Regions from separate parts of the Homo sapiens genome. Here region 1 is linked to region 2. Evidence: promoter capture Hi-C in 16 types of primary human blood cells and fetal thymus (Javierre and others, 2016). All regions are on one chromosome and are shown on one strand. Each heading gives the region's core, a stretch centred on a gene start or on the middle of the fragment in contact. The rest is flanking DNA. Distances are from core to core; before and after follow the strand shown.

Evidence for each region. Contacts are between HindIII fragments. The CHiCAGO score rates a contact against its expected background, and 5 or more counts as called.
Region 1: a contact is called between a fragment that was not itself captured here and the fragment with the promoter of VIP in region 2, in 1 of 17 cell types (megakaryocytes). The highest score is 5.6, in megakaryocytes.

Annotation. Positions count from the first base shown.
Region 1 is chr6:152,959,256-152,965,152 of GRCh38, forward strand. It overlaps the pseudogene C11orf98P2. Among named protein-coding and RNA genes, the nearest start is that of FBXO5, 21 kb to the right of the region's middle. The HindIII fragment of the contact is 583 bases long and covers 3,678-4,260 here.
Region 2 is chr6:152,746,843-152,752,313 of GRCh38, forward strand. It overlaps VIP (vasoactive intestinal peptide), which reads left to right and starts at 3,955. Exons shown (of 7, transcript NM_003381.4): 1 at 3,955-4,117; 2 at 5,326-5,442. The coding sequence starts at 5,336. It also overlaps a transcript of MYCT1 not described here. The HindIII fragment of the contact is 3,260 bases long and covers 1,385-4,644 here.

The sequences.
Region 1 (5,897 bases), core at 2,719-5,218, 210 kb after region 2:
GAATCTTCTAGTGGAAGAGGTTTAGCTCTCATCTTCAAGGTCCTTCATTTCTATGTCCTGGGGGACTTTTGTCCTCTTTTGCATTTTGAGCTGTGGTTCGATAGTCCTGGCTGGCTTTGACGGGCTTCCACCTCCATGGCTGCCTTCTCCATCTGGGCAAGCCGGATCTGCCGGAGGAGTTTTCTAGGCTTCTTCCCCTACAGAGTAATGTTGGCACGTGCACTGGATGCCTGCTTCTTGAGGTGGTGCCGCGTGATCAGCGCTTGATCTATCACAGCTTCGACCACCCAGTGCCTCAGACGCTGCTTGCGGTTCAACACCGGCCTGCGCTGATCAGCTTTTTCTTCAGCTCGGTTCGGCGCCAGTTGATTTTTCCCCCCGGGATCCCCCACAGTTGCTCGGCGACGCCAATATGCGGTCCGTACTTCCGCCTGGGGTTTGTTGTATTGGTGTGGTTTTCACTTCCCGAGGACATGGTTGTGGGGCTTGCTGTTGTGGTGCAGTCGCTGAATCCCAAAGACATGGTTACTTCCCTGACTACCTATCTTGCCTCAGGAATGTCTATGCTATGCCTGTCCCACCACTGTATTTTGGAAGCACATAACGCTTGGAAGCACATAACTTGCTTGATTCCACAGGCTCATGCCTGAAGTAAATTGCCTCCTTGCCATCCTGCCTTGACTTTAGCCTATATCTTATTTAGATGAGACTCTGGGCTTTGGACTTTTGAGTTGATGCTGGAATGATTTAAGCCTTTTGGGGGCTATTAGATGAAATGCATGTATTTTGCAAGAAAGACATGAATTTTGGGGCCCAAGGGAACAAAAAGGCTATGGTTTGAATGTGTCCTCAAAAAAGCATGTGTGGGCTGAGCACCGTTGCTTACACCTGTAATCTCAACATTTTGGGAGGCCAAGGTGGGAGGATTGCTTTAGCCCAGGGGTTCAAGACCAGCCTGAGTAACATGGTGAGACTCTGTCTCTACCAAAAAAAAAAATCATAACAAAAACTTAGCTGGGCATGGTGGTGTACACCTGTAGTCCCAGCTACTGGGGAGGCTGAGGTGAGAGGATCAGTTGAGTCTGGGAGATTGAGGTTGCAGTGAACCATGATAGTACGACTGTACTGCAGCCTGGGTAACAGAGTGAGACCCTCTCTCAAAAATAAATTAATTAATTAAAAGCATTTGTTGGAAACTTAATTTCCAATCTAATAGTGTTGAAAGGTAGAACCTAATAGAAGATGTTTAGGCTATAAGGGCTCCACCACTTATAAGTGGATTAAGGTTGATTACAAAGGGGCTTCAGGCTGCAAGTTCAATCTCTTGCCCCCCCTTTTTTTTTTTTTTTTTTGGAGATGGAGTCTAGCTCTGTCACCCCCAGGCTGGAGTGCAATGGCACGATCTTGGCTCACTGAAACTTCCACCTCCCAGGCTCAAGCAATTCTCCTGCCTCAGCCTCTGGAGTAGCTGGGATTACAGGTGCATACCACCACACCCGGCTAATTTTTGTATTTTAGTAGAGACGGGGTTTCATCAGGTTGCCCAGGCTGGTCTTGAACTCCTGACCTCAGGTGATCCGCCTGCCTCGACCTCCCAAAGTGCTGGGATTACAGACGTGAGCCACCGCGCCCAGCCTTCTTGCATTTTCTTTGCCCTTTTGTCATAAAAGAGTGCAGCAAAAAAGGTCCCTGTCAAATGTCAGCCCCTTGATCTTGGACTTCTCAGCCTTCTGAACAGTGAGCCAATAAATTTCTGTTCATTATAAATTACCCCGTTTCAGATAATCTGTTATAGCAGCACAAAATCAAGTGAAAAACTTGGTGAATAACCCTATTAATGTCTTATTGAATTCAGTTTACTAGTATTTTGTTGAGGATTTTTGCATGTATGTTCACCAGAGATTTTGGCCTATAATTGTCTTTTTTTGTAATGTCCTTGACTGGCTTTGATTTCAGTAAAGTTGCAGGATACAAAATTAACATATTAAAATTAGTATCATTGCTATACACTAACAACAAACTATTCACAAAAGAAATCAAGAAAACAATCCTATTTGTGATAGCATTAATGAAAAACTTAGAAATACATTTAACCAAAAATAAAATTAACCAAATACATTCAGTGTATGAGAGATCCATACACTGAATATTATAAAACATTGATGAAATAAATTTAAGAGAAAAACAAATGAAAATATATACAGTATTCATGGATTGGAGGAATTAACATTGTTAAAATGTCCATATTACCCCAGTGATCTACAGATTCAGTGCAATCCCTGTCAAAAGTGAAATGACCTTTTCCCAGAAATAGAAAAGAACAACCCTAAAGTTTGTATAGGAAAACAAAAGACCTCAAATAGTCAAAGCAATTTTTAGGAAAACAAAGCTGGAGGCATCACAATACCTGACTTGAAAATGTACCAAAAACGTATAATAATCAAAACAGCCCATACTGTCATAAAAGCAGACATATAGACCAAAGAAATAGAAAACAGAGCCCACACATTTACAGTCAACTGATTTTCAGCAAAGCTGTCAAGGACATACAATAAGGAAAGGACATTCTCTTCAATATGTTGGGAAAATTAGATATCAACACCCAGAAGAATGAAATTAGACCCTTAATCTTGTCCCAAGTACACAAGTCAAATCATAATGGGTTAATGTCTTAAATATAAGATCTGAAACTATAAAACCATTAGGGGAAAACAGAGGGAAAGAGCTTCTTAACATTGGATTTGGCAAAAATTTTTTGGATACAACCCCAAAAACACATGCAACAAAAGCAATATTAGACTAATTGGATTGCACCAAACTAATGAGCTTCTGCACACCAAAGGCAACAATCAACAGAGTGAAGAGACTATCTATGGGATGGGGAGAAAATATTTGCAAACCACATATCTGATAAGGGGCCAATATCCAAAATATTTAAGAAACTCAAACAACTCAATAGCAAGAAAACAACCAGTTTAAAAAATGGGTAGGAACCTGAATAGATATTTCTCAAAAGAAGACATGTGAATGGCCAACAGGTATATGAAAAGATGTTCAACATCACTAATAATCAATCAGGGAAATGCAAATGAAAGCCACAATGAGATATCGTCTCACTAGAATAGTCTTTATCAAAAAAATAAAACATAACAAGTGTTAACAAAAATGTGGAGAAAAGGGAACCCTAGTACATTGTTGGTGGGAATGTAAATTAGCATAATTATTTTGGAAAACAGTATGGAGGTTCCCCCCAAAATTAAAAATAAAACTATTGTATGATTCAACAATTATCTTTCTCAGTATGTTACCAAAGGAAATGAAGAGATATTCCCTCCTCCATGTTCATTTCAGTATTATTCATAATAGTAAAGATATGGAGTCAACCTAAGTGTTTATCAACTGATAAATGGATAAAGAAAATGTGATATATATACATAGCATGATACTATTCAGCCTTATGAAAAGAAAGATATCTTGCCTTCCACATGGCAGTCTTGCAACAACATGGATGAATGTGGAAGACATCATCCTAAGTGAAATAAACCAGGCACAGAAAGACAAAAGACAAACTGAATGATCTCACTTTTATGTGAAATCAGAGTAGAATGGAGGTTACCAGGGACTAGGGTGGGTGATAGTGAGGTGGAAAATGGAGAAATATTGGTTAAAGGATAAAAAGCTTAGTTAGATAGGAGGAATAAGTTCTGGAGATCCACTGTGAAGCATGGAGGCAATAGTGAATAATAATGTATTGTATGTATATTTGAAGACTGCTAAGAACATAGATTTTTAAATGTTCTCACCACAAAAAAAAGATAAGTATGTGAGGTGATGGATATGTTAAATCATTCTACAGTGTGTGTGTGTGTGTACATATATCAAAGCATCATGTACCCCATAAATATATAGAATCATTTGTTAATTAAAAATAACTTCAAAATGACAAAAATAAAGATGTTTTCACATGTACATAGGCTGAAAAAAATCAAAGACCAGCATATCTGTATTATAAGAAAAATTAAAGGAAGTCCTTCAGGCACAAGGAAAGTTTTATCAGATAGAAATATATTTATTTCTACCCAAAGGAATGAAGATACCAGAAATGACAACTGTGTGGGCAAATACAAGTATAAGAAAACTTTCTCATTACATAAATATCTTAGATGATAAACAAAGAAACAAAAATAATGTAGTGTATGTATATATTTGTGTATATATATACACATATATATTGCACTAACATGTATGATAACAGCACAAAGCTTAGAGGGAAGAAATAGTATGGCAGTTTTATACTATATATAAAAGGGTACAATAATATTTGAAGCTAGACTCAAGTTAAAAAGAAATACTATAAATCCAGAGGTAATAGCTAAAATCACAAAATAGAATTATAGCTAATTAGCTAATAAACTAGATATAAAGGAACCATAAAAATAATCAAAAGATGGCAAAAAAGAGAAAAAAATGGAATAAAGAACAATTACCAAATAGAAAACAAATATCAAGAAAGTAGGTTTAAATCCAACCATATCAATAATCCCATCAAGTGAAAATTGTCTAATTATCTCAAAAGACAAACATTTTTGAAGTAGATTAAAAAAATAAATGAATACTTGACTATATGCTGTCTGTAAGAAACACACTACCATAGAAAACTACAAAAAAAGTTAAAAATGGATGAAAAAATATACTATGCCAATATTAATTTCAAAAAACAAAACAAAACTGGAGTGCTTATTTTAATATAAAACAATGTAGATTCCATAGAAAAGCCACATCCAGGGATAAAAAGGTCATTTAAAAATGATAAAGTGTTCATTTCACTAAGAGAACATAATAATCTTAAATATTTATGCAACTAATGACAGAGCTTCAAAATACAGACAGCCTCTGACTTACAAATTTTCAACTTTACAATGTGCAAAAGGGATACACATTCAGTATGCTTTTTGACTTATGAAGTTGTGCACAGATAAACACACTGTAAGTTCAAACAGTGGGTGTATCCAGACATAACCACATTGTTGAGGAGCATCTGTACTTAAAAGCAAAAACTGATAGAATTACAAGAAATAGACAAATCCACAATTACAGCTAGGGATCTGAATACTTCTCACTCAATAATAGCACAAATAGATAGACATCAGTAAGGATATAGAAGATATGGAGAGCACTATCAACCAAGTTGAACCAATTGATATTTATAGGTCATTTTACCAAAGAACAGCAAAACACACCATATTCCCTTCATAGAGCGTATTATAGGCCAAAAACAAATACTCAATAAATTTGTAAGAATTGAGTCACACAACTGTTTTCTCTGACCACCATGAAATTAGAAGTTAATAAAAAGATATATGGACAATTCCAGAATATTGGAAAAGTAAATAACAGACTTATACATAACCTACACATCAAAGAAGAAATCCAAAGGAAAATTATAGAACACTTACAAATGAATAAAAAGAAAAGGACAAAATATCAGATTTAGTGGTATGCCGCTAGAATAGAATTTGGAGGAAACTTTTAGGACTAAATATTTATATTAGGAAAGAATAAGGGTCTGAAATCAATGAACTCAACATTTACCTTAAGAATCCAGAAAAAGAATGTAGAAAAAGGGCAAATTAAAGTCCTTCAGGCACAAGGAAACAGAAGAAATAAAACAAAAAATCAATTATAAGGAAAAACAGGGAAAAATCTGAAACCAAAAATGAGTTATTTGAGATCCATCTAAGTGATAAACCTGTAGTCAGACTGATCAGTATAAGGGGAGAAAAGACAGAATTTATCAATATTGGAATGCAAGAGATGACATTAATACACATTCTATAAATATTAAAGATACTAGAATATTGTGATGACTTTATTCCAATAAATACAATAAATTAAAT
Region 2 (5,471 bases), core at 2,705-5,204:
AATAATTTTCTCTAAACTCAGCATCAGTAAGTGGGACAGATAACGAGGTTTTGGAGTTAAGGGAGAAGTTGTCCTCGATCATATCATTTAGATCATTATTTGTTTTGCTTTATATTTGCTGATATATTTTTAGATTCCGAAATGAATTCTAATAGGTAACTTTAAAGGGAAAATTTACCTTTATTGTAATATTATTTTCATCAAATCACTAATATGACAAGAATACAAAATCCTGAAAATAAGTTCAAATTTTCTAATTTAAAAGAATTGAAAGTGTTTATATATACTCTAATATAGATGCTTTAAATATATAAACTTTTAATATGCTATACAAATATACGTATGTATATACATCTTATGCAAATGTACACTTTTAGTAAAAGTATACATGTATATTAAATGTATGTATATATTCTGTATGTTATACATATATACATGTATAATATATTGTATAGAATATATGTATTTATGTATATATAACATATACAGTACATAATACATTATACATTAGGTATATAAAATATATATACGCAAATATATATTTCCTAATACAAGTTATTGAAAGATATTGGATTTAAGACTATTAAAGCAAACATATCATCTTAAATATCTGCCAAACAGGAGGATCTAGGGGATTGAAAAACTTTTTTTGTGAAAGATCAAATAGTAATTATTTTAACCTTTGAGAGCTGTGCAGTTTGTTGCAACTATCCAACTTTGCCGTTGTAGCACAAAAGCAGCTATAGAGAATACATATATGATGAAATGCTTTTATGTTCCAACAAAACTTTATTTATGGACACTGACGTTTAAATTATATATAAGTTTTGGCCAGGGAGGTGGCTCACACCTGTAATCACAGCACTTTGGGAGTCCGAGGCAGGCGGATCACTTGAGCTCAGGAGTTCCAGACCAAAGCCCGACCAACATGGTGGGCACCAGTGGTCCCAGCTACTCTGGGGGCTGAGGCACGAGAATCGCTTGAATCTGGGAAGCAGAGGTTGCAGTGCACCAAGATTGCACCACTGTACTCCAGCCTGGATGATAGAGTGCATGAGACTCCGTCTCAAAATAAAATAAAATAATAACGTATAATTGTCATGTGTCACAAAAAGTTCATTTAATTTTTTTAACCATTTAAAAATATAAACATCATTCTTAGCTTGAGAGATGTAAACAAACAAAAACAAATGAATGAAGAAACAAACAAACAAAATCCAGAGGGGTCAGTCTATTTAGCTCACAGCCTGTAGTTTCCAGACCTCTGATCTAGACTTACCCACTCAGGATTACCAACGCAGACATTGGCTAAGTCTCAGGACTGGAGGTGAAATAGGGTGAATTAGGCAGGTAAAACCACCATAAAAAGAGGCAGAAGAGCACAAGCTTAGGCATTTAATCCATAATAAGAATATGGACCCTCTATTAGTATTTTGCACTAAAGAAAAAAAGGCAAATTTGGATTTCTGCTAATATCCTGAGCTTGAAAATCCCTTCCATCTAATTTCCTTGCATCCAGTATGTTTGAATTTAGAATGCCAGTTTTATTTCCCTGCTCTTGGTTCTGTTGGTGAAAAAAGGGGAGAGGAGATGCCAATATTTTTATGAGCTGTCAATTTCCATATCTGACCTGCTAGCATCAAAAAGGTGATAGCAACAATTACAGAATATTACCAATTCTAAATTGAAAGAATGCTGACTCAAAATCAGACGGTCTATCTTCCAATCTCGTATTTGTTATTAACCACCTGAGTGGCAAAAATTACTGAAACTTTCTGGAGATCAGTTTACTTATTTGTAAAAGAAGGATCTTGAAGATTTTTCTATCCATGTGAATGAATTATAGTTCCCCTTATTACAAACATCACTTTACTGAGAAGGCCTAAGGCAAAAATAAACTTTGCCAGAAATGTAGGCAAATTATGGAAGAATATGTCAAAGTACGGAAAAGACACATTTAAACAGTAAATTCAAGTTTGTATCTTTGTACTTATTTACTAAGTTTTATGGTAACCGAGAATTCAGGATAAATTTGACTGCAGTACTTTTTCTTATGTTTATTTTTTCTGGAAGCATCCAAAAGTTAAGCTGGCTACAGGACCTCTGGTTTACAATTCATTTCCTTGAAAGAAAAGAAGAAATAAACACAATTCTATAAAGTCTGTGAATTAAAACTTTGAACCTGCAGATGGTGCTATGATTCCATTTTCAAATTGTTTTGCTTTCTAGTTTAAATTCATAAGAGAAAATGCAGTTGTTTGGTTGAGTTTACTTTTATTCAGAGGTAATAAAATTGAATTATTTCTTTTTATTTTATCTTATTATTATTATAATAGAAGCAATTGTCTTTTGTATTGGGAAAAGCTACTATAGTTACTCTTTGTAAATGCTAAGTGCTTGCCTAGGCCAAATAATGATCAGCTTTACATCTTTTATGTTTAAAATTTTTCTTCTTATCATTCAGCAGTCATTTGTCTGTGACCCTCAATTAAGTTGCTTTGCTGTTTCTGCTCTTAAATAAAATTGGTTCACTAAGAATTGGGTGATGAAGAGCTAAGGATAAAAAAATTCCATATGAGAACTGTTTCAACCTCTAGTTTGTAATAATCAGGTAAAAAAGATTTCCTGGAATTAAGCCACAGGAACTCTGGCTTAAGTCAGAGCTGTCAACTGGGAAACAAATTTCCAGACATTTTGAAACTTAATTCATTTAATTTTTCTGGTAACTGGATTAGAAAATATGATTAAGCATAGCAGGATATTCTTTTACTGGATCAGTCTGACTTTGAACGAAGGAAATAGATACTACAATCTTAAAGTAGAAGAAAGAGGACTGTAAAGCCATTCTGTCTTATGAAACTTAGAAACAAAATGTAAAAATAATACACATGGCAGAAAGCCTTTAAAATAAAAGGAAAAATGGCATTTTCCTCTGTTGTTTAGGAAATTTTTCATGTGGCTGCATTTTTACCTTAAACTCTGATTGAATGTGTGCTAGACTACCTTTAGTTACAAATCCACAAATAGAAGTGAAGTATTTATCAAAGTACTATATAAATGCTTTTCAACTATTTGAAGCCACCTGTCAAGTGATTGAATCAGAAATGTTCAAAACTGGTTTGAGTATGTGTGTGTGTTGGGGATGAGGGTAGAAAACTAATTCTACATTATGCAAAGACTTATAAAAGTGATGAGGAAAATCTTTAAAAAGAAAAGACAATTAAATTCCTTGAGGTATATAGCCTGACAACAATTTATTTTTTGGATCATTTGACACAGTGTATGTAAAAGTGCATTGGGAATTGTGCCATTTTATACAAATATGAAATAGCACTACTTGTACTGCTTTGTACAACAGCGTGCATATCTTACTATCTTAGAGACTTTCTGAAACACTTATCTTGGAATTAGTTTCAACAAAGACGAAATGTAATAATAGGAAGGTGAAAATTATCTCTAGAGCTTTTAAAGTTAGGATAGATTTCAAGAAAGATTAAATCTGGAACTATATGAATAGCATAAAAATTAAAAATATTAAGAGAATTGATACTTTGTAATAAAGTATAATTATACTTTTATAAGCGTAATGAACATAAGTGTTTGTTGCTTTATGCATTTGTTTCTACACATGAAGTCTTTATTTTCTGAAGGAATCCCAATGGCCCTGGCTATAACACTACAATCATTTTCTTATTTTACAATTAATTAAAGGTTAAAACATTTCACATTGAGCTTGCTACTTTGTTTGTTTAAAGAAAAGTAAATTTCCTCTTATCTTACATTTTGAAGTTGCTCACTATAAACTTATATAAATTAGGCATAATGACAATTAAGTAAGAACTTCAAGCCCTATTCATCCCATGGCCGTCATACTGTGACGTCTTTCAGAGCACTTTGTGATTGCTCAGTCCTAAGTATAAGCCCTATAAAATGATGGGCTTTGAAATGCTGGTCAGGGTAGAGTGAGAAGCACCAGCAGGCAGTAACAGCCAACCCTTAGCCATTGCTAAGGGCAGAGAACTGGTGGAGCCTTTCTCTTACTCCCAGGACTTCAGCACCTAAGACAGCTCCAAAACAAACCAGAACAGTCAGCTCCGGGGGAGCACGACTGGGCGAGGTAAGTGAAAACTTTACCTTTCCTCTTCTTTTTCCCTCCTGCCTCTGGAACTTTTCTCACAAAATAATGAATTTTTCTCTCTTGAAAAGAATTTGATAGTGCTTTGCTTTTGCAACAGCAAAAAACAAGTTTCTCAAGTCACCTGGTAAGGATAGAAATACTTCAATTTCTCTCATATGGATAGATTTTCTGAATTCTTTTGTTTGTAAGATGCTTTACCCTGCTTGCTCTTTTACTGAATACTGATTTTTACAAATAATTCATTCAAGTAAAGTTTACTTGTATGTAGATTTTTGACTGAAAATTTCAGTGGGAACATTTGCTTTTGAAATTTTCAACTTATTTTTAAAGTGCTTTTTTTTTCCTATTTCGTATGTTGGTTAAGTGAATCTAAGATGCATTTATTTTTTCCTTAAGTTTAAATTCCATAATTTTTATAGGCAGCAAGAGAAACAGACCTTACTCCTAGGCTTTTAATCTAGAAACTAGAAATGAAATGTGTAAGTTGATTAAATGCAAGAAATGCAAGCTTTGCTTTTAATATATATTTTCCTCTTATGGAAAAATTTATTTCAATGACAACATATGATTCAGTAATATTTTGAGTATTAATATTCACTACTGAGTTAAGAAGTTCAAATCCAGGTGTAAGGAAATAAGTTTCCGTAATATCTACAATTGAAAGAGGAAAAAGTAATGTATATACAAAATCTTTTTTAAAATTATATGTATATATACACATTATATTTATACATTTGCACACACACGAGCAGAATAATTATTAAATAGATGATACTCTAGTCTTATATTAGTCAGATACTGAAATTTTAAAGCAGAAGAAAATCAATGTCTTGAAGCTGTTTCCTTCGTCAAAAAATACACTAAGCTTGAGTGGTACATCCCTGTTATGAAAAGATTGTCCCCAGGGTTATTTCCAGCACTATAGAAGTATGGCATTCAATAGATACTGGGGCCAACCATGTGCCCAGACAGCAGGTGAAAAGGATTCTAATTTTTATTCAAGCACCTGTCACTGAGAGAAATACTGATTTTTGAATGTATCATCTTGCAATTTAACTCTTTCTACAAGATGAAAATTACTCTTTACAAACTCTGCAAGAGCCATTGAAAATTACTGCTAGACAATCAGAATTACCTTGCTGGTGACATCTTTGGCTGGAAGAACTGAGGTGATTCTCTCTCTTTAGAGGCACAGAAATGGACACCAGAAATAAGGCCCAGCTCCTTGTGCTCCTGACTCTTCTCAGTGTGCTCTTCTCACAGACTTCGGCATGGCCTCTTTACAGGGCACCTTCTGCTCTCAGGTAAGTTCCCTTTCAATTCAAACATCTGA